2 separate regions of the Homo sapiens genome follow, and region 2 is linked to region 1. The links are contacts of gene promoters, found by promoter capture Hi-C in human tissues and cell types (Jung and others, 2019). All regions are on one chromosome and are shown on one strand. Each heading gives the region's core, a stretch centred on a gene start or on the middle of the fragment in contact. The rest is flanking DNA. Distances are from core to core; before and after follow the strand shown.

Region 1 (5,134 bases), core at 965-3,464:
CCTTCACCTTGAGTGATCTTGTTCCTTAAAACAAAAGCAAACATATCCAAATAAGATAAATGTAATATAAGTCCCATGACCTTCCCCCCTCCAAAGTAATTTCACCTTTCAAAATGTCTAAGATCCTGTGTTAGTCTGCTAAGGATAAAAAGAAAAAGAAAATGTCTACTAGGACAGAAAGCCTGAAAACTGTTACTAGCACAAAATAAACATAAAATAGAAAATCGTTTATTAAAGTTTAAAATGACACAGGAAAATGTAGATTTACAAATGAAATAATGCTTTTAAAAACCTGTTTCTGAATAGAGTTCTAAGAAGAAAAATCTCTAGAACATGCATTCTTCTCTCCTCAGTTCTCACAAGAATATTTATTGTACTCAGCATCCTCCCCCCACCCCCATATATATAGATGCCACTTTTAGGTAGTAATTTTTATTGTTATTCACCAACTTAGAAGTGAATCCATGTTTTAGTTTACTTTGGATATATACTGTTTAAATCTGCTCTGTCACTGACATTTAAAAATTTGGTTACGTTAGGAAGATCATTTTAATTTCCATAGTACATGATGCTAAAATTAAAGACACTGAGTACTAAATGAACTTCATCCTAGTAAATAATTATGAACCAAATTATTCTATATAGTTTCGGCCTTAAGTATACTAAGAGCATACAATATAATAAAATCCAGCTTCTCTGGGCCTTTTGTTTTCAATGTGTATTTTTCTAAATCTGAAAATACCTATTCGGCAGCAAGTATAACAAAAGCAAAGACACAAATTAAAACTATTGATTATTCTGTTTAAGGCCAGGGTTTCTGAGTTTTAGTCTGATTTTAAAAAACCTCCGTCTGTCCCTCTCTCCCTCCCTCCCTCTCACGGTAACAGCCGGAGAGGCAAGTATGGTAAGGTCGACCTTTAAACGTTTGCTGGATCAGCACTGGGTGGGGATAAGAAAAGATCAAGGGCAAACAGAAGATATTTGCGAAAGGGATCTATTTGCACACTGAAGTTGATTTAAAAGTACGTTTAAAAATCAAGTTGGTCTTAATTCGTCTGTTCTATTTTCCATATTCGTGGTGACAAAGGGAAAAAGAATCTCTGGCTGCCCCCAAACTACAAACACTTTCCAAGTCAAAAGCCTGAGTGCCGGCAGAGGCAGCTGATTAAGCCCAATTGCTTGAAGGTGCAGCCGAGCGAAATTCAGGCTCGGTGGAAGGTAGTTACAAAGCAACGCCTTAAGACAGGCAGGAGTGTGAAGAATTACATAAACAGCCAGTTAGATCTCATTAGATTTCTGCTCACAGCCCTCGGAGCCCAAGCGCTACAGCAGCAGCAACAGCAAGAGGAGGTGGAGGTGGAGGAGGAAGAGAGTACGAGCCTCCTCGGAGAAGGAGGAGGAAGGCCCGGGAAATGGAAGAGCAACCTCTCCCGGCTGGGCACCCAGCACCGAGCAGGTCGGGGCGCCGGGTCAGCCGCTCCCCTCCCCCGCCGTAACCCGACCCGCTGCTCCCCGCCCCGTGGCCCCCGCCCCGGGCTCCTGGGAGCCGGCCAGAGCCTGGGGGAGCACCGGTTCCTCGGCACCATTTTCAGCCTCGCGGCCACCGGCCCCTCGAACCCCAGCGTTCCACCGCGAGCTCGTCGCTCCTCCGGGCACCCCAACCCCCCAATTCCCGTCAGCTCGCCCCGGGCCGCCCGTCCCCGGCCAACTGCCCAGGACGAGCCCGACGCGCCGGCGGCCCCTCGGAGCCGCTCCCCTCGGGTCCTGGCGCTGCCCCCTCGGCGCCCAGGGCCGCGACCCCGCCGTCCCCGAGCTCCCGAGGGCCCAGGGCTCGACGCCGCTGCAGCCCCTCCTCCGCCGCCTGGGCCCGGGGCTCCCGTCTCCTCGCCGACCCCGCCCGGCGCCCCGAGATACTTACGGGCTGCTTCGGGGCGGCTTGGACCACAGACCCGCGGCTGGGCGGGGAGCAGCGCGGCAGGGCGGGGGCGCGGGAGGGTCGGGAGCGGCGAGCTCGCCGAGTGCAAGACGTTGCCGCTGCGGGGCTGAGGACAGAGGACAGAGGCCTCGGGCAGGCCTTGGGAGATCGCCGTTAGTGGCTCGGGGTGGCGGGCACGGGGGTCAGACGAGCGCGCTCACTTCTCCACACAGCCCGGTGCCCGGCCCAGCGTCCCCGTAGTGCGCCCGCTACACGCCGGGCCAGAGCTTCGCTCCTTCTGCCGCGGCGCGCGCCCCGCCTCTCGTTTTATGGCCTCCTCCCCGCCCCCATCCCCTCCGTCGGGGTGCGCGCGCCCGCTCCGCGTCACACAGCTCCGGCGGCGCAGCCATTCCCCGCGCTCCCCGCCCGGCACCCCGGTCCCCCGCCGGCCGGCTCCGCCCCTGCCCTGCCCCCCGACGCCATTGGCCAAGTCCCGCCTGCCCCTGTCCGGACGCGCGGCGGACGCAGGGGTGGGGAAGCCGCACCCTCCGGGCTCCAGGAGGGCCAATGAACCGACGATCGGAGCACTGGGGACGGAATGAAGAGAACGTCTGGAAAGGGACTGTGGGGGCAGACGTGCCAATGAGAGAGAAAGGGGTGGGGTAGGGCGGCTGACGCCCGGTTTAGGCGGAGAGCGCCGGGCAGAGGGGGAGGGGGACGAAGCTGGTGGCGAAGCGGCTCAGGAGAACCGGGGCTGGAGGAGCGGCAAGAGTACCCAGAAAGTGCCCTCTCCGCGGGGGTCTGCGGCCAAGGAGGATCCTGCTCGTGGAATAGCTACCAAATCGGCCTCCAGCCCACCCCAGGGGCGGGGTAGAGAAAGGGCAAACTGTGACCGGGACTTGTGCACCCGATTAATTGAATATTAATCACCCCAAGGCCTAGGCCAACCGCCACCCAGAGAGTGGCAGCTGCAGAACCCAAAGACGTGGAGCCGGGCTGGGGGTGGGGAAGGGAGGCCGCCACAGCTCCCGCCCCGCCGGCAGTTTAACTGCTTCCGCAGCCTCAGGCCTCCCGGTGCGACCCCGGCTGCGACTCGGATCCGTTTATTCCAAATGTCCCAGCCCACGCCGTGCCCAGAGTGTGGCGACACGAGGCCAAACTGCGTATGTATCTGTGTCCATGTCTACACACACACGCATGCGTGCATTTCTAGGGCTTGCTGGATCGCAGGTGCACAGAATAAACGCGGTGCCTGCTTGTAAAGCGCGTTTAAGATCATTCTTGGCTGAAATATGTGCGGGTACCTAGGGAGTGGGGTAAGAGAGGGACTCGTGGTGGGGGGCGGGTAAGTGCCTTTTTCACAACCTGCCCCAGAGAAATACACGAAATTACATCGGGAGTGGAATCGAGCGTCCCTCTCAGCTAAAAATATTACTCACAGGTAGCAACGACGCCTGATTGGCTGCGCTGGTCCCTTCGCAACGAGGCGATTGGCTGCCTGGTATCCAGGAGACCGACGTCAAACTCGGACTGGGAAAAGGGGAAAGTCTGGGGGGAGCGAAGGAGGGGACGGGGAGAAAGAAGCAATGAATGAAACGCCCATCGCCTGGCCTTCCCCTTTCCCCTTTCCCCTCTCCTCTCCATTCTTGGAGCACTTCCTGGAAAAACACCAGTTGGGGCGCCGCCTTCCCCTCCAAACGTTGGGGCCTGCACTCTCAACCTGCTATAAGGAAGTTAAACCGCAGCTCACCGAGGAGTAGGGTGTCTACGGGGCGGGCCCGTGTAGACCAGCTGTGCTCCTCGGGCACAAACCCGCCGTACATGCCAGGCCTAGAAGCTTTTGGCTTTGTGGACGCAAAATCTGGTTGGAGCCGCCTTCTCCACCCTGACTCTCCCGCCTCTCCTTTTTAGAAGGAACCGCACTGAGAAAGGGTATTTCTGAAGGCTCAATGCGTAGGAGAAGGGGTGGGAAGATGGGTTTGTGGAATGGGCTGAGGGTGGGGAGTGGTCAGGTGACTGATTTCATGTTTATTGTACAGATTCCTAAAACATAGTTTTACTAAGTGACTCCTTAAATTCTGATTAATGTGATTTTTTTTTTTTTTTGAGTGTTTGGGTTTTTTAGTTGCAAACAGGAGTGGAATTGAAATGTGAAAGTATGGCAAAACTGTGAAAGCATTTAAATTAAAATGTCCCTTCCTCTGCATTGAAATGTCATCAAAGCGTCAAATATAAATGATTTGTTCAGTTTTCTTTTTTTATTTGTTTGTTTTTGGTTTTCTGTAATGACAAGTCCATCTGTAATAAAAGTGAGTTATTTTTAGTTTTCTAATTAAGCACAGAAATTTCAAGAAACTAGACAGGATATCCTTGGAATGCCTTACCAAAAGAAACACTTCATTTTTCACGTGTTCTAGAAGCACAACTTCTTTTACCATTAGGCAAATAATGGTACTGTACCAAACATCTAGAACTGCGGGACCATGTGTCTTGATTAGTAATTTTATATTGGGGGGGCATATTAGGCATGGCTGAGACTAAAATGTCTAAAGATAGATGAATTGTAATTTTGTCAAACTTATCTGTACTTTTCAATAATTCTCTAAAGAGAAGGGACAAGTTCTCTTTTCTGAATGTCTTCAATCTGTAATTCCAGATTTGAAATATGAGAGCAGTCATCTGATAGGTACTGATTAAATATCAGTAGCATTAAAAGCATTTTTAAGTCAGAAATGTAGATGTCAAAAATTTATGAGTTATTGCTGCTTGGCCTAGGAGTGTAAGAAGATGTCTGACCAAATATAAACACACACACACACACCACACAAACAACACACACGGAGGCCCCATGGCATACTGGAAAAAGCAATGAAGGGTGGGTACTGGGAGGTCTGAGTTTCACACCAGTTTCAATAAACTTTTAGTTTTCTCACCTATAAAAAGGGTTGAATTAGATCATATCTAATGTCTCCTTCAATTAAAAAAAAATTCCACACTTGGCTGGGAGCAGTGGCTTACGCCTGTAATCCCAGCACTTTGGGAGGCTGAGGCAGGCAGATTACCTGAGCTCAGGAATTTGAGACCAGCCTGGCCAACACGGTGAAACCCCGTCTCTACTGAAAATACAAAAATTAGCCGGGTGTAGTGGCACACGCCTGTAATCCCAGCTACTTGGGAGGCTGAGGCAGGAGAATTGCTTGAGCCTGGGAGATGGAGGTT
Region 2 (5,134 bases), core at 1,247-3,746, 350 kb after region 1:
ACAGGTGCCCACCATCACCCCTGGCTAATTTTTGTATTTTTAGTAGAAACGGGGTTTCACCATGTTGGCCAGGCTGGTCTTGAACTCCCGACCTCAGGTGATATGCCTGCTTCGGCCTCCCAAAGTGCTGGGATTACAGGCGTGAGCCACCGTGCCCGGCCTAGAGCCCTAAGTTAACAAAATGTTAAATGCAAACAAAAGTTCATGTATTTTCTAAATTCTCTTTTCTTCTTAAACATGTATAGCAGCAGAAAAGATCTTTAAGTATTAATTAAAGTTGTAGTCAGGTTAAACAAGTATTGGACAGAATTAATCAAATCTAAAGGAATAAAATAATCAAAAGGAAAGAACTTGTCATCAGATAAATTTTAAACATAATTCTAAATTATTTTAAATGCTCTGTAACAATCCACTTGCTGAAAAGAAAACCTTTTAAAGGGTTTCTCATGATATATATATATAGCACATATTTTAGCTCACAATACTATGTTACTAATAGTTCCTTGTTTTTGTGACTTAACATTTGGAGACAAAAAAATTAGAAAAAAGATCCTTCCTCTTCTGAATTATCAGTTCAAATTGCAGATTTAAGTAACATACACAATGAATGGTTTGTTAGGTCAAATCGTATGACATTGTCAATATGCATATTTTTGATATACAATACTAGCAATTTCATTTACTTTCATTTTTTGTAGAAAAGAAGTCTCACTCTGTAGCCCAGGATGGTCTTGAACTCCTGACCTCAAGTGATCCTCCTGCCTCATTCTCCCAAGTTGCTAGGAATACAGTTGAGCCACTGTGCCCGGACAAAGCTAGCAGTTCAACTTAATATGAACATCTGATGAGGCTGGGTATGGTGGCTCATACCTGTAATCCCAGCATTTTGGGAGGCAAAGGTGGGAGGACTGCTTGATGCCAGGAGTTTGACACCAGCCTGGGCAACACAGCGAGACCATGTCTTTACAAAAAAATTTAAAAAATAAATAAATATAAAAGAAAATTAGTATTTATAAGAGAAGACTAGTACTTCTCCCTGTTTAAAATAACTTCAAACTGCAATTTCTCTATAGGAAACTTGTACTTACAAAACTTACAGAAGTTCTTGTTAACTATTATTAAGTATAATAATAAAAGAAGCATTTCAGTTACAAGACATAAAAACAAACACCTTCTAAGGATAAGATGCTTAGGTGTTATTGTACCTTCAGATTTAAACAATGACTAAGTACTTCAAAATAAGGTGAGAAATTCTGTACTTACATGTTTAAAACAGGTAACCGGAGCTGCTATAAAGCTATTGCTATTGATGTAGTTACCCCAGCTGAAACCTTCCATGGAGACTGCTAAAATGAAACAAATTTAGATGTATTATAATTCTCAAATCTTTTATTTATAAGAAGGTTATCATTGTTAAAATGTGTGAAAGGACATAAAATTAATTTATCCCATTTAAAGAACGTTTTCTTTATGTAAAGATCAAATAACTTCTCTAAATAGCATGAGCTTTGGCTTATATCATATTTGCAAACAAACAGGAGTTTCTTTATGTTTTTGAGACTGAGTCTCCCTCTGACACCTAGGCTGGAGTGCAGTGGCATGATCTTGGCTCACTGGAACTTCTGCTTCCCAGGTTCAAGTGATTCTCCTGCCTCAGCCTCCCGAGCATCTGGGACTACAGGTGCATGCCACCACACCCAGCTAATTTTTGTATTTTTAGTAGAGACGGGGTTTCACCATATTGGCCAGGCTGGTCTTCAACTCCTGACCTCGTGATCCACCTGTCTTGGCCCTGGGATTACAGGTGTGAGCCACCACGCCTGGCCAGGAGTTTCTTAACTGTTCTATACATGACACATGCTCCTGAGGAAGTGAGGTACAAGCTCTTTGGTTAAGGGGAACAAAGAGAAGTTGAGAGAAGTGTACAGAATGACAAACACTGTTGTGGCTGCTTTTGTGCTTTTATTTCCATTCAGTTCTTGCCATGTACCTCAGTGAGATACCTACCCCATATCACTTTTAATTACCTCACTTTCTATTTACTTCTATTTACTCACTTATTGCCTCTTCTATTTACTCACTTATTGCCCTTCTCACTATTTACTCTCTTATTGCTCTCCTCATTATTTACTCACTTATTGCTTCACTTTCTATTTACTTCTATTAAAAATCTTCTGGCTGGGCGCTGTGGCTCACACCTGTATTCCCAGCACTTTGGGAGGCTGAGGTGGGTGGATCATTTGAGGTCTGGAGTTCTAGACCAGCCTGGCCAACATGGTGAAACCCTATCTCTACTAAAAATACAAAAATAAGCCAAGTGTGGTGGCGTGCGCCTGTAGTCTCAGCTACTTGGGAGGCTGAGACATGAGAATTGTTCGAACCCATGAGGCAGAGGTTACAGTGAGCCGAGATCACGCCACTGAACTCTAGCCTGAGTGACAGAGCAAGACTCTGTCTCCAAAAAAAAAAAAAAAAAAAAAAAAAAATCTATTGGAAATGGTCCTTTCCTTAATCTCCTCTTACTACTCTTCTTCCCTCAATCCCTTTGAAGCCTGCTGAACATCCCATTTCTTTGCCTAATATCTTCACAATTCAAAGAATCTGTACATGAAAAGTAAATAATAAACCAAATAAAAACATTAAGGAGACTGCCAAAAGCACTTGAACTTATGCATGCAACTATACTCTTCTAGAGTAATTTATTGAAATCAAAACAACTATTAGGAAGCTTAGAGCTGTAATGTGCTGACAGGACATAGAAACAGCTAGTTAAACAGAATTCAAAATTACAATGTCATTAATTAAAACTAAATGAATCAATGTCATATATTTCACCTCTGTCAGATTCACCAATATTACCTGCTTTTGTCTTTGCTTGATTTTGCAAGGTAGCTTGATACTGAGCATATGCGGCTAGCTTAGCAACTAAAGGTTGTTTCTGAAGAACTTTTGCTTTCTTTGTTGGAGGCTTACCCTAAAACAAGAAAAGTTAAGTAAATAGGATTCTTTTTCATCCCCTCACCACCACAATTTAACTGGACTGCATACTACACATTCTGCTTAAGTAAACATTGAGGGTTTAGAAAATTATTAAAGCAGAGGAAACATACAAGAATTTTAACATGAGAATTTTTTTCTGGAGTTCTGCTACAATGTAGTTATCTAATATGGGTAGCAGAGCTGGCATAGACTACAACAGCAATATGCAAATTAATATGTTAATAAAAAATTATATCCCACAAGATGTTAAAATATAGGCTGTGGTGGATACTTGATTCCTTCTTACAGTAGATAGAACCAGTGGTTATTTACTCATGCAGGTTGCCAAGCATTGCTATTTATATGGTAAGAGAAGATAATTTAATGTTCAAAGAGCAAGTGACTGAGGTTTATACCTTTAGTGCTAACGCAAAAGATCAATGACAAAATGATCATGGGCCAAATTCACAGTGTGACAAACTGCCATCCATTTGGGTACAGACCACTGCTCAGGATCTTTAGGTACTGTCTATCTGAAATATAGAAATACATCTAAGTGATGTATTTCCTTAATTTGGAGGATTTAAATAACCCTTTCAGTGCTATGTAATGATCACAATAATAAATTAAATGAGAAGACTGTGATCATCCAATAAAAATACTGCAAAAATCAGTTAAGTTAATGCCTTTAAAAAGTAGTTTACAATACAATAGTAAGAACTTAGTCAAATGGTCAAGTCTCCAGTCATTTTGTAGGCACTGATGTACATTTAAAGCAAGACGATTTTCTTTCCATACCATGAGCGTTGTCAAAAAGGTTAGTTGGATTAACCAAATACATTTGGTCAATGTATCAAATGGATTGTACTAAAAAGTACAAAGCGAGGACGATGAGAAAATAAAACCAGAGATTAAATTATTTCCCCCCAAATGTTGAAAGATTCTACCTTGATGTTAACACAAAAGGAAACAAGGGGAAACAGGAAAATGTCTTCAATTTCTGTATATAAAAAAGTGTTTATACTTATTTGGAAAAAGGATATTTTAATTAACTTCTGCAAATAATAGTTTATTTGGATAGTATGCCTTATCCATTTAAAATAGTTTTTCAATTTTATAGGCTGAACAAACTTTGGGGCTCACATGTTTCCTCAAGATGTGGTATAAAACCATAACTGAGTGGGCAGAGGTGGAGTACAGTGAATCACAGTCAAATGACAGATAAATGGCAAAAGCCATAGAAATAATGGATATAAGTAAGAAAGTTTCTGTACCGTTACCTGAAGTCTGGCCAAAATGCTTGCCTTCTTGGAGTTTGACGAGTAACTTCTTGAACATGAAACGCTACAGAAACGCTTTGTTTTAGAGTAAAAAGCATCTCGGACGCCAACCATCCCACACATCTCACAGGTAGCTAATTAACAAAATAAAAACACTGGTGTTATGATGATATAATAAAATCAATCTTCATCTAACAGTTTAAATAATTTCTCCTGCCATCTGAAAGTTTTAATTAAAAAATTTGCCTTGAACATTTCTTCTATCTCCTATACAAATGATAAAGAAGCCTGCACAGAGAAGTCAGAGAGAACACTGGTATTGTGCCATGGTGATGGGCTCTATAAGGTCTGATAGTGGCTTGAGGTCTGAAAGGTTTACAAAGGGTCAACAGAAACAGGGCAGATACGCTGGATTCAACCAACATTTCCTTAGTGCTTACCATGTGCCAGGCATTTTCATATACAACAAATTCCAGCTTTTGAAATGATTACACTTGAAAGATGAAAAGTGCCACACAACTGAGGATTAATAACAAAGTATAACACAGGCCTTTAAAATACTGCAAAGGTTGAAACTTAAAAAGAGGTAATACTTGGAAAAATGCTAAGAGCTGTATGAGGATTCCTTCAAGTTATGTTTAGGGGACAAAAAAAAGGAATGGGTTCAAAGTTTGAGGTAGAGGCCAGGTGTAGTGACTCATGCCAGTAATCCCAGAACTTTGGGAGGCCGAGGCAGGAGAACTGGCTCAAGGCCAGGAGTATGGGACCAGCCTGGGCAAGATAGCAAGATCCAGTATCTTCAAAAAATAAAAATAAAAAAGAGCCAGGCATGGTAGCACACACCTGTAGTCCCAGCTATTCAGGAGGCTGAGGCG

The links. Contacts are between HindIII fragments. The study calls those that stand out against the background at their distance.
Region 2: a contact is called between a fragment that was not itself captured here and the fragment with the promoter of TOB1 in region 1, in 1 of the 25 tissues and cell types used here (lymphoblastoid cells).

What each region holds. Positions count from the first base shown.
Region 1 is chr17:50,864,140-50,869,273 of GRCh38, forward strand. It overlaps TOB1 (transducer of ERBB2, 1), which reads right to left and starts at 2,215. Exons shown (of 2, transcript NM_005749.4): 1 at 1,919-2,215; 2 at 1-24. TOB1-AS1 (TOB1 antisense RNA 1) reads left to right here and starts at 2,540. Exons shown (of 2, transcript NR_038458.1): 1 at 2,540-3,078; 2 at 3,357-4,232. RefSeq lists an enhancer at 831-880 and silencers at 1,421-2,030, 2,041-2,550. The HindIII fragment of the contact is 8,365 bases long and covers 1,787-5,134 here.
Region 2 is chr17:51,216,071-51,221,204 of GRCh38, forward strand. MBTD1 (mbt domain containing 1) reads right to left here. Exons shown (of 17, transcript NM_017643.3): 4 at 4,260-4,393; 5 at 2,860-2,974; 6 at 1,264-1,346. Among named protein-coding and RNA genes, the nearest start is that of MBTD1, 41 kb to the right of the region's middle. The HindIII fragment of the contact is 3,892 bases long and covers 551-4,442 here.